2 separate regions of the Homo sapiens genome follow, and region 2 is linked to region 1. Evidence: promoter capture Hi-C in 16 types of primary human blood cells and fetal thymus (Javierre and others, 2016). All regions are on one chromosome and are shown on one strand. The core of a region is centred on a gene start or on the middle of the fragment in contact, and the rest is flanking DNA. Distances in the headings are between cores, read along the strand shown. Region 1 holds the start of GRIP2 (glutamate receptor interacting protein 2). Region 2 has its middle 66 kb from the start of LSM3.

Region 1 (5,983 bases), core at 66-2,565:
GGGCAGGGTCTTGAGTTTGCAGATACAAAAGCACAAGTAGCCCTGCCCCAGATTTAGAACCTGGATTATTCTAAAGGTGCCACTAGCGTTGGGCTGGCAGGAGCCAGTGTGGGGCGGCCCAGGAATTGTGGCTAAATTCCATGCTGGGGTCACTGTTCTGGAGGGAACCCACAAGAAACCTCGGGTCCCTAACTACCGGGCAGCCCTCTCCCACTAGCTGCAGGGCACATGGAAGAAATATGAGGCTCGTGTGTTCCCACGCGGTCAGGAACTCCATGGGAGCCAGGCCTTGTCTGTCTGGTTCTCTGTTGCCAGACGCACTGTGCAGTTGTACAGGTTGTTGACATCCACCATTCAGTGCCCTGTCACCATCACCCCACCCTTCTTGGTGTCTGACCCTCAGTTGGTGCCAGCACACACTGGTGGGATGGAGGGCAGGGGAAATTGGGTGCAGCCTGCCACCCCTTCTCACAGACAGGTAGAGGAGGAGCCTCAGGTGTCCATTAAGATCAGCCTGGTCAGTCCTGAGCCAATGTGGAGGAATCCCAGGAGTGTGCAAGGCTAAGGCCCAGCTGGGTCTGGGACGGGGCAGAGCCTGCCAGGTGTGGCTGGAGCCTGTGACCAACTGGCCCTGCCTATCAAGCCCAGAGGCGGGCAGATCCTCCACCCAGCTCACTTGGTCTTCACAAAAAGCTGGGTGGCCACTCCACGTGGCAGGCTGCCGGGTTCATCTTTCCTAAGTCCCATTTTACCGAGGGAAAACTGATACCTAGGAGAGGTAGTTGGAACATTGGTGGGAGGGCCCTGGAGGGTCTCCAAGCTCAAGGGTTTCTAAGCTGAGACCTACAGAGACGCCCTGGCATTGTTCATGCAGTCAAAGAGTCTGTGCTTCATCTAGCTTATGTCCTGGGGTTCTGTGCAAATTCTCTTGGAATCTGCCGTTTAGAAAAAAAAAAAGTTTGGAAAGCACTGTTCCCTGTCTCCAGATGAAAAAACTGATGCCTAGTGAGGGAAGAGTCGTTTGCCAAAGTCCCAGGGCAAGTTAGAAGCAGGCTCTCTCTCTGCCTGAGAGCCCTGGGGGAAGCCCCAGGCATGCCACCTTCAAAGACCCCCTGTCCAGACCCAGGCTGCAGGGGTGGGGCATGTTGGACCCTGTCCTGGAGCCAGCCTTGACAATAGCCATGTCCCCTTTAAGCAGAGAGCCGCCCGCTGCAGTGGGTGGACTCGGTGCCCAGCCAGTGGGAGCTGTGAGCTTCCCTCCCACAGCCCCTCCCTGGGGAGGGGAGGGAGGGCCAAGCAGCGTGGCTCCCGAGGGAGTTGGTGGGCAGCAGGGGAGACAATAGCGAACATGCTGTGTGGGCTCAGCCGGGAGACCCCTGGAGAGGCGGGTACGTAATGGGGGGTCTGTGGGCAGAGTGATGGGGCTGAACACATAGATCCCTCTGGAGCTGCTGCCCAGAGAGAGGGGACTGGATGGCTGAGACCTGGGACTGCCACTCCCTGGAGACCCAGGGCTTGGGGAGGGTGGGGCAGGACACTTGCTGGGGCTGTCTGTCTGACCCTGGCCACTGTCCTGTAGCAGGATGGCTGAGCCTCCCCCAGGGCTGTCCAGCACAGGCAGGCAGAACAGGCGGGTCTGGAGGTTCCGAGGGCAGTGCTCAGCCTTGTAGGGGGAAGGCTGGTCCTATCTGGGTGTGAGCGAAGCCTTTTGCCCAATCTCAGGATCTGCACAGCTGCCTGGTGGGAGTGAGTGTCCGACCCAGAGGGGTGAGAGCCCAAGGCCCATGGGCAAGGTGGTGGTGAGGAGTTCCTGTGCTGGCACAGCTGGGCAGGAGACTGGTTCTCGGCAGGAGGAGAAACTCTGGTTTGGGGGTCTGACTGGTGAGCCCCTGGGGCTCTGGGAATGTGTGGGATGGGGGATCACAGCTGCCACATTCCTGGGTGTGCTGAGGCTGGGACCCAGGGGAGGGGCAGACACGATTGTTCCATCTGTCTCTCCAGCCTCAGCCTGGGCTCACCCTATTCCTCCAAAGAGGGAGCTTGGGGCCTGGACCAGAACATACTGCATTCACTGCCCTGGGGTTGCCTCACTGGTTTCTTCCCACGCTCTTGACATATCTTTGCACCACAGCTCCAAGGGCAAGGACTGTGGTCCCAGTGGACAGAGGAGGAAACCAAGGCTCAGGGAGGGCAGTGGCCGAGCTGGGATTGACACCCCGATGACTTTTACTGCAGAGCCCCCAGCCCTGCTTCTGAGGGCCCAGTGGACTTTGATTCCCACCTCCCTTCCCATGGCAAGGAGCAGAGCCAGGTCACCTCTGGACCCAGCCTTAGCGACCCAGGAAAAATAACACTCATAATCATAATAGCTGGCTGTTGTCGAGAGCTTCCTCTGGGCCAGGCTCTTTTCTAAGCTTTCTGTGCATTTTCTCATTTAATCCTCATAACTACACTGCCACTTGGGTACTGTTATTCTCTCCATTTTGCAGTTGGGGAAACTGAGGCAGAGAGCTGCTAAGTGACTTGTTCAGGGTTATATAGCCAGAAGTGACAAAGCTGGGATTTGACCCGATGGGCCCACCCATCCTTGGCAACTGCACTGTAAATGGAGGCTCTGCCTTCTTGGCCTGGACACATCTGTTCTTTCAACCCAAGGCCCAGGTGAGTGGGGTCACCTTGGTCTGCTGTGGTCAGGGCCACAAAGGCAGCAGTGCCCTGGAGACCTTACCTGGGGCACTGCCAGGGAGGTGTCTCCCCCTCCTCATGGGCCTGTGACCTCCACCTCGGCCCAGGGTCAGCATCAACTGCCTGGGCCTTTGCCCAGTCTCCTCCCTGGCCTGGCCTCCACCCCTTTGCTGCCATGGGAGGAAGCTTGCCAAAACACAAATCTGCTCAGCTCCTAAGCCTTGCATTCAAGGCCCTTCCTGACCTCTCTGACATTTTCTCTCTCTGATGACTTACTTGACCTCTACCCTCACCACTGTAGCCTCCACCCTAGGTCTCCTCCCCAGGTCACAGAACCTCATGATCACACTTGCTTCAGTTTGCATCAGCACCAAGGCTCTTCTTCCAAAAAGTGTAAAGATGGAGCTTCAGGCACAGTGGGATCCAGATGCTCAATTAACATCATTAGGACTCTGGGTCTCTTCGTAGCTTGCTCTGCTTCACTTTAGTGAGCTTCATTTCCAGGCAGACTCTCTCCTCTCCTTGAGAGTTCCTGGCACCTTCAAACTTAAGGTCAACCAGCTCAGTCATCCCTAAGGAAAGAGAGCCTATTTCCAGTAGTTCCAGCAAATGCCCCAGAAACGGCTCTCATTGGTCCAACTTGTATCACATGCCCACCCCTGATGGATCGCTGAGCCTCTGATTGGCCAGGCCTGGTCATGTGACCTCCCCTGTTGCTGGTAAGGACAGCCATATACCTCCACATTTGGCACAGAAGACTGCAGCCCTGAGAAGTCAGCCCACTGGCAGTGTGCGTCAGTGAGTGCCCCGATTGGAGCTGGGCTCTGTGGACCAGGCAGCCCTATGCCCTTTCTCTGCTCCTGATGGACTCTGGGTGGGTCCCTTCTCAGGCCCCACACCCTGGGCATGTCGTCTCACTCCAGGGAGTCTTGCTTTCCTGTCACTAACCCCAGAGTTCTGGCAGGAAGGGACTGTGACCTATCTCCATTGGCCCAGGCTGGGGCACACAGTAGGCCTGAACACAGATTTTGGCAGGAAGTCCCTCTCCATGTTCACTCTCCTGCCTTGAGGACGGGAGGCCTGCTCTGACTCCGCAGCCACAAAGACATCTTTGTTCCAGGCCTGCTAGGTCTGAGCAGGCACTTGCTGCCATGCTGGGGGCAGGGAAGTCTCAGTGGGTGTGGGTGTACATGTGTGAAGGTCCCCCTGCTGTGCCCTGGGCTACCCACTCCTCCGAGGGGCCCTCACCAGGCCTACCCCTTGGCTCTGAGACTCCTCAGGCAGGCCTGGCCTCCTACTCCACAGCAGGGGCTGTGGCCATGGGGGATCCTTCGCCTGAGTTTGCGTCCTGGCTCTGTCTCTTCCTAGTCTCTGACCTTGAGAAACTCATTCCACCTCTTTGATTCTCATTCTCCTAATCTGTAAATGGGAATTGAATTAAAAAAATATTTGCTGAGCATGTACTACATGCCAGACAATGTGTGCGCTGCACACAGCAGTGAGCAGGCAGACAGAAGCCCGGCCCCCTGGAGCTGACATCCCAGTAAAAATAGTCGTAAATATTTAGATGGTGTTGATTGCCCAGAGGAACATGAAGCAGGGAGGGAGTGGAGAGGAGGTGTGGAGGTACAGGGTGCGTGTGTAAGTTCCAACAGGCGGATGGGGAAGGCCTCCCTGAGGAGGTGACATTTCTACAAGTTCCCGAAGGAGCTGAGACGGGAGTTTTGATGATGTCTGGGGAAGAGTTTTGTGGGCAGAGGGAACAGCCGATGCAAAGGCCCTAGGGGGATGTGAGTCTGGTGGGCCTTGGGTCGAAAGGACAGATGTGTCCAGGAAGGCTTCACCTCCCTTTAGAGTGCAGTTGCCAAGGTGGGGTGGGCCCATAGGGTCAAATCTCCGCTTTGTCACTTCTGGCTGTGTAACCAGGAACAAGTCACTTAGCATCTCCATGCCTCAGTTTTCCCAGCTGTAAAATGGGGAGAATAACAGTGCCCAAGTGGCAGTGTGGTTATGAGGATTAAGTGAGAAAATGCAGTGTGCTGGAGTGGAGCTGGCCAGGGCGAGCATCAGGAGGTGAAGTCAGGGGACCGGGGACTGACAGTTGTGGTGAGGACTTCTGCTTCTACTCTCCCTGAGCTAGACACAGTCTTCTTGTGACTGCAGGCAGCCGCCATTGGGAAACTGAATGGTTCTGTGGGTGACCCTGATTTTGAGGTCACGTTCCTTGACATTGCTGGTTTTAGAGTAGGGCAGGAGAGCAGGACCCAGAACGCAGAAGGCCAACCCCCAACTTGAGACTGCGCCCCCGCTCTCCCATGGTGGGATGTTGGCCTGCGTGTGGCTCAGGCCTGCTGGACAGGAGCCCCTCTCCCTGTGTGGAGGAGGATTGTGGGGGTGGCGGCCTCTCCAGGTGATGCCATGGGTCCTGCTAGCCCTGATGCACCCAGCCTGTGAGTGCCTGAGCCCTAACTTAGGTATTCTTGGGATACTGGAGCTGTCACCTTCCCAGTGCCCTGATGCTTCTCATTTGGGGTCTGTTGCCCTCCTGTTTGGAGGGAAAGAGCAGAGCCAAGGGTTCAGGGCATGGTCTGTTGTGAGGTCAGGGAGCCCTGGGTTCCAGGTGCCTCTGCAGCTCACCAGCTCAGTGGCTTCTCTGGGCCTCAGGCTCCCTATCTGTAAACTGGGGACAATCGGTGAGCCTCCCTCCATGGTTCTTAGGACAATTAACTGACTTAGCATTCATAAAGTGCTTAGAGCAGGCCTGGCCCAGGGAAGGGCCCAACACTGGGTGCTACTTATTAAGGTTCTTTATTTTTTTCTTTGCAATCCTTGGCAACAAATGAATGAGGCTTCAAATTTTTAAATGTATTGATGCATTTCTTTTTGTCTCCCTGAAAAACGTGCTTCTGCCGAGCTTATCTGATCTTTCTATGCTGCTCTCCCCATGGAAGCTGGGCTTCCTGGGAGGCTTGTCGCCCGTGGGGATTGGAACTGTCATTCAGAGGTCAGCCTGTAACTGGCTTTGAGGCATCTCCATCGAGCCCTTGGCCTGTTCCAGCCCTCAGTGGCCAGGGAGGAACGCCCAAAGGAGCTGGGGCTCTGCCTGGAGCCGAACAGCCCCGGGGCTGCAGGCATTACAGCAACTTCCAGGCTTGCATGGATGGGGGAGTAGGCAGGAAGGTACCCAGAGGGTAGGGCCAGACCCCTTAGGGAGCCAGAAGGCCTGGGCTTCAATCCTGGCTCTGCCACTTAGAAGCTCTGTGCCCCTGGGCAGTTCCCTTGACCTCTCTGTGCCTCA
Region 2 (5,983 bases), core at 2,569-5,068, 300 kb after region 1:
CTTTGAAGAACAAGCAAGTGACTGGGAGTTTGTTGGAAGTCATTGTTTGCTGTCTTTCTTTTCCTTTGAATAATGTAGTGCTATGCACTCCTTTTGGGCAGAAGTCATGATACAACCTTTTCTTATATTCCCAACAGAGGCCAAAACATGGGCAATATTGTCATCCTCATCATCATTATCATCTTCATCATGGGCTCCATTAATTAGGCCAAGCATTTTATACGCTGTATTGGTTAGCTGTTGCTGTGGAACTTAACAGCCTAAAATAGTGATTTATTATCACAACCATTTATTTTGGTCACAATTCTGTGGGTTGGCAGTACAAGTTGGGTTTGGTGGGGTAGTTCTTCTGGTGTTGACTGGCCTCTCTAACATGTCTGTGGTTAACTGTGGGCCAGCAGGCTGCCCCTGCTTCTGGGGATTGATTGACTGTTGGCTGGGTCAGTGGGGATGACTGATTAATATGTCTTCATCCTTCAGGTGAGATTGGGCCTCTTCATATGGTAGTGGCGAGGTCTCAGCATAAGAAGAGATACCTACTCAAAGTGAGAAGGGATAGTTAGTTGGCCACATCGAGTTACAAGGCCATCCATATTGAAGAAAGTGAAGAAAGAGACTCTGCCGCTTGACAGGAAGCAAGGCAAAAGGACATGGATATGGCAGGTTGTGAAAAATTGGGTCACTTTTGAAAACAATCAATTTCACAGGTATTATCTCATTTCCTCAAAAAGACAAAGTCAAAGCTCAGTTTTACAGGTAAAGCAGCTGAGGCACAGAGAAGAAAAGGAGCTTGCTCAAGGAGCTGCTAATAGAGTTGAGATTCAAACCCCGGTGTTTATCACTCTACAGACAACACGTTATTAACCCCTGTGAGTTACTGCCCACTCCACTCACAGACAAAGACCTAAGGAGGTCAGCATCCCAGGAGGCCACTGTCTTTGTCATCATTGCCATCATCATCACCATCATCACATTTATTGAATATCTGTGATGTGCAGATGCTATCAGTGCTTTACATGGATTAATTCATTTATTATAATTCACCCAATGTCCCTATAAGATGTACATTAATGATTTTCCCATGTAACGTGGGTCAGGATTAGAAATTTCATGACGACTTCACTCATTTTGATATTCCCTCTATAGCACAATATCTGGCACATAGGTCATACCCTCTTGCCATATGTTTGCTGAATGAATGAGGGCAGAAGTAGGGGAGTGAACAAGACTCAAGGCAAACAATCATTAGCCCAAAGTCACACAAAGCAGGACTAGATCTCAAGATCCCCCATCTCCTTGCCATGTGGCCCCTGGGCAGCCTTGTTACCTGGATCTGCTGCTGCTCCACTCCCCCAAGGTGGCTGAAAATAGAAAACAAGATTCGGGATGTGCTGTTCGGTCTTCCAGCAGGTGCCCCCAAACCAAACATAGTCCCAGAAACGTAAATCTGAGAATGTTTTGAAACTACCTAGCACAGTGGAGAGAGCACTGGGCTCAGAGTCTGAAGACCCATGTGTGCCACCCTTGGTTGATGTGTGATCCTGGATGGGTCACTTGGAGAAGACCAGACTTTCCTCATCAGAAATCCAGGGCTTCAGATTTTACATCCTGTTTACATTCCAGGACTGTGCGGGAGATAAGAGGAGCTCACAGATGCAAACTCTCCGTGAAGCTTGTACTTGACTCAACTCATGGACCTCTCCGGGTTTGCTCAGCTCCACTGGTTGCACCCCCACCAACACCCCCAGCCTCACTTACTTGCTCAGGGGAGCACAGGCCCCACACCAGCTCATCTCCTAATTGCCACGGGCTCCACCTCCCACGGGGCAACGTCTGCACCTAGGCCTGGCCTCTTACCTTCCGTGGAACCACAGCAACTCTGGTGCCCTGGTCCAACCTGACTGGTCATGCAGAGGCTCTGGCTTGTCTCACTGTTTCTAGACCCAGATGAAGCACTCTGCCCTGAGATGTAGCATGTGGCTTCCCCAGCAGCTGTCTGAAGGGGCCACAACACTTTCAGGGGAGTTAAGGCCCGTAGGGTCAATTTGGACCAGTGAAAGACAGATGATGGAAAATCACCAGGAGATGCCTCTTTCTTCCTCTGCTAGTCTTGGCTCTCTGGAGATGTTACATGGCTGAGTGACCTGGTGTGCTTTGCTCTGAAGCTGTGACATGCTCAATCATGCACCACCCTGTGTTTTCTTTCTCTCCTTCCCTGCTTCACTTCCCGTCTTCCCTCAGTCTTCCCCCAGCTCACACCCTGGAATGACACACAGGTACCTGAGCTTCACTGGAGAATCTGTGGGTTAGGTAACCTAGTCGAAGATAAAGAGAAGAATTTGAGAAAGTTGTCAATTTGCAACCACTCAAAAAATCAGAAGAAGACTGTATCTACTGCTGGCAAGGATATGGAGCAACCGGAATGCTCTCGTACGCTGCTGGTGAGAATGTAAAATGGAACAGCCACTTTGGAAAATGGGCAGTTTCTTAAAACATTAAACATACACCTACCATATGGCCCAATCTTTCCACTTCTAGGTATTTATCCAAGAGAGAAAAAAATACATATGTCTACACAAAGACTTGTACGAGAATGTTTATAGCAGCTTTATTTATAATAGCCTCAAACTGGAAACAACTCAAATGTCCCCCAACTGGTGAATATATAGACAAATGGTGGTATATTCATACAATGGAATTTTACTCAGCAATAAAAATGAATAAACTCTGGATACCCACAACATGCGTGAATCTCTAAATAATTATGCTAAGTGAAAAAGGCCAAAGAAAGTACTGTTTGATTCCATTTACATAAAATTCTAGAAGACGCAAACAAATCTATAAAAACAGAAAGTAGGCCAAGGATTGCCTGGGGACGGGGGTGGAGGAGGGGTGGGTTGTAAACAGGAGGGCACGAGGCGACTTTGGGGGCAATGGAAATGCTTGCCATCTTGATTGTGGTGATGGTCTCAACGGACCACCTTCATAAAGATGTGAAAAGGGGGGAAAATCACCAGGCCTATAAGTGAACCCAACCAAATCTTTAGGGAACGATCACTCCGATGCTATTTAAAGCATTTCAGTGCACAGAGAAAGAAGGAAAACTTCCAAATTCCTTTTGTGAAACTAGCATAATTCTGATACAGAAAACCTGGCAAAAGGGGCCCATTAATGAGTGTGCCGCTCTGCGCACACCTGTGGAGTTATTATTGACTCTGTAAATCAGCTACACTGCAGTTGACCTACTTTCACAATTTTTTTCTGTCTTTAGTTTCCAGAAATTTAATTGCATTGTGTGTTCCTGTGGATCTCTTTGGATGCATTCTGTTTGGGGAAAGCAGCAAGCAGGTTTACCAGATGGGATCAAGAGGGAAGAGGAAGGAGGCCAGCCTTGGAGGCTGATCCCAGTGAGAGGGCTTCTCCTAGAGGGGTGCCAGGGCCAGGAGCCTCCAAGACCTGTGCGTGGGCTCACTGATGCCCCTCTCGCCTCTCTCTGCTTGTCCCTCCCACCCTGACCCACCTGCTGCTCTCCACGCCCATGGCTCCCACCTTTGTTTGTATCTCCACTGTCTCTTGCCTTTTCTTTAAAAATCTGACAGTCTCTGAGCCCCCTCTCCCTGCAATCCATCCTCCATGATGCCAGAAATCCAATTATGTAACAGAGCTAGGATCCAGCCACTCCTCTGCTCGCTTCCTGTTAGGGGCTGTGCTGCGTCTCCTTCTCCACCCCAGAAATTTTTATGTTGAAGTCCTAATCCCCAGTATATCAGAGCATGCCCATATCTGGAGATAGGGCCTCTAAAGAGATAGTCAAGTTAAAATGAGGCTGTTAAGGTGGACCCTCATCCAATCTGACTGGAGGTCTTATAAAAGGAGGAGATTGGACACACAGAGACCCCAGGGCTAGGCATATTCAGAGGAGAGACTGTGAAGACACAGTGAGAAGGTGACCACCTGCAAGCCGAGGAGAGAGGCCCTGGGAGAACCCAAACTTGCCAACACCTTGATCTTAGACTTCCGGCCTCCCGAATTGTTAGAAAATAAATGTCTGTTGCTTAAGCCCCCTAGTCTGTGTATTTTGTCATGGAAGCTCTAGCAAACTAATACTGTCCTCATCTCAGACTCTGCTCTCCTGTGGCCCACAGAACAGGTGCAAACTTAGGACTGCACAGCCCAGCACCGCAGCCTCCTTCCCCGCAATGCTCTAGCAACGCTGAAAGGGCTGCACCAAGTTGTTCATGTCTCTGCGTCTCTGCAATGCCACTCCCTCTGCCTGGGGCAGCCTCCCCTCCTTCTTGTCAACAGGCAGAGGCTCTGCTCTGCAGGTCTGACTTGTACATCCACCACCTGCACTCAGCATAGGACCTGGCACTGGGCAGATGCCCCTGAAGGCTTAGAGGGAGGAAACAGAAATGTCAGAGGGGCTGCATTGGTGGACACAGGCAGGCCGGCTTTGTGGTCGTACCACCTGCGACTTACACAGCTTCCAAGTATCTCTTATTTAGGTCAATGTTTTCTTCTTCTTCTTTTTTTTTTTTTCTTGATGCCCAGTAAAGTTCAACTTTATTGTAAATTTTTTGTTTTTTGAGTCGGGGTCTCACTCTGCTGCCCAGGCTGGAGTGCAGTGGTGTAATCATAGCTCACTGCAGCCTGAACTCCTGGGCTCAAGTGATCCTCCTGCCCAAAGTTTTCTTCTTACTTAACCTTGGTTTCTCATTTTTCTACAATGACCATGAACTTTTCATCGTAATAACAAAAAGAAAAAAAAAAGGAGTAATAAAGATAGGACACGTGATGAAAAAAATCACTTTTCAAACACCCAACACATACTGAAAGTACAAATGACATGGTTTTCTTCCATTTTTCATATTATGTTCCTGTCTGCAATCCATAATCATCTCTCTCCAAGTTCAGGAGATCCTCTGAGGCAGGTCCGGTGCTGCTGCGACTCCCCTGAGTAATATGAGCACAGACTTCCCAAGCTCAGATAGGAATCAAATTGTCCTCGGAAGAGACTTGGAGCGGAAGAAGCTGGTGACCTGGAAACACAAAGAAAACCTCAACAAAAGCCTGCTCTCTCACCAAATGGCCAGGAAAAGGCAGCTTAGCAAGAGAGAAAACTTTTAGGCAACCTGTTCTACTCCAGCTAAACACCACACAAATCATACAAAGCAAATGGTGAGTGGGAGCCTAGACGCCCCCACTTGTGAGGCTGTAACAAGGATCCCAGTAGCCTGGCTGGAGCGGTGTCCAAGAAGGCCAAGTAGAGAGCCGAAGGCCTCACCCTCGCTGGCTGGCAATCAGCTCATCCTTCCCCACCCTCATGGAGTCCACCCACATGGAGACTCTGGATTTTCACTCCCACTCAGCAATAATGTGGAGTCTCTCCCTCTCCCCACTCTCCAGTGTGTCCAAGGAGGTCTTGGGAGGGTCAGGACTTTCAGCAGCACCCAGCAGCAATGAGGCCACCTCCATCAAACTGTCAGTGAGACTGCTGGGGAGCAGGAACTCTCTCCCCCAACTTGGCAGTAATAAGAACCCCCACACCTTGGTGTCAGCGGAGGCTGAGTGGGAAACCTGGACTTCTACTTTCACATGTCAGCCACGAGGAGTGCCACACACATGCCCCAGTGAGAACAGTTCAGAGAAAGCTAGCTACAGAGAAGGCTTCCATAAGGCCCCGAGTCTCATCGAAATACAAAAATTTCCAGGTTTTAATAAAAATTCACTTGACATATCAAGAATCAGGAAGATCTCAAATGGAATGAATAAAAGACAACTAATCGATGAAGGTGATGGAGATATTAGAATCATCTGAAAAGGATCTCAAAATAGCCATAATAAAAAGAACAGAAAGAAAGCTATAAAAGGAGGACCTTTGGAACATCAGGAAAAAAGAAAGAATATAACAAAAAAAAAATGGGTAAACCAAACAGGCTTTCCCTTTCCCCCAGATAAGCTTCCCTAAATCATGTTTGATGGA

What was found. Contacts are between HindIII fragments. The CHiCAGO score rates a contact against its expected background, and 5 or more counts as called.
Region 2: a contact is called between a fragment that was not itself captured here and the fragment with the promoter of GRIP2 in region 1, in 2 of 17 cell types (neutrophils and endothelial precursors). The highest score is 7.6, in neutrophils.

What each region holds. Positions count from the first base shown.
Region 1 is chr3:14,535,674-14,541,656 of GRCh38, reverse strand. GRIP2 (glutamate receptor interacting protein 2) reads left to right here and starts at 1,315. Exons shown (of 24, transcript NM_001080423.4): 1 at 1,315-1,388. The coding sequence starts at 1,349. RefSeq lists an enhancer at 4,543-5,502. The HindIII fragment of the contact is 3,735 bases long and covers 1-2,416 here.
Region 2 is chr3:14,242,254-14,248,236 of GRCh38, reverse strand. No RefSeq gene overlaps it. Among named protein-coding and RNA genes, the nearest start is that of LSM3, 66 kb to the right of the region's middle. The HindIII fragment of the contact is 4,287 bases long and covers 1,675-5,961 here.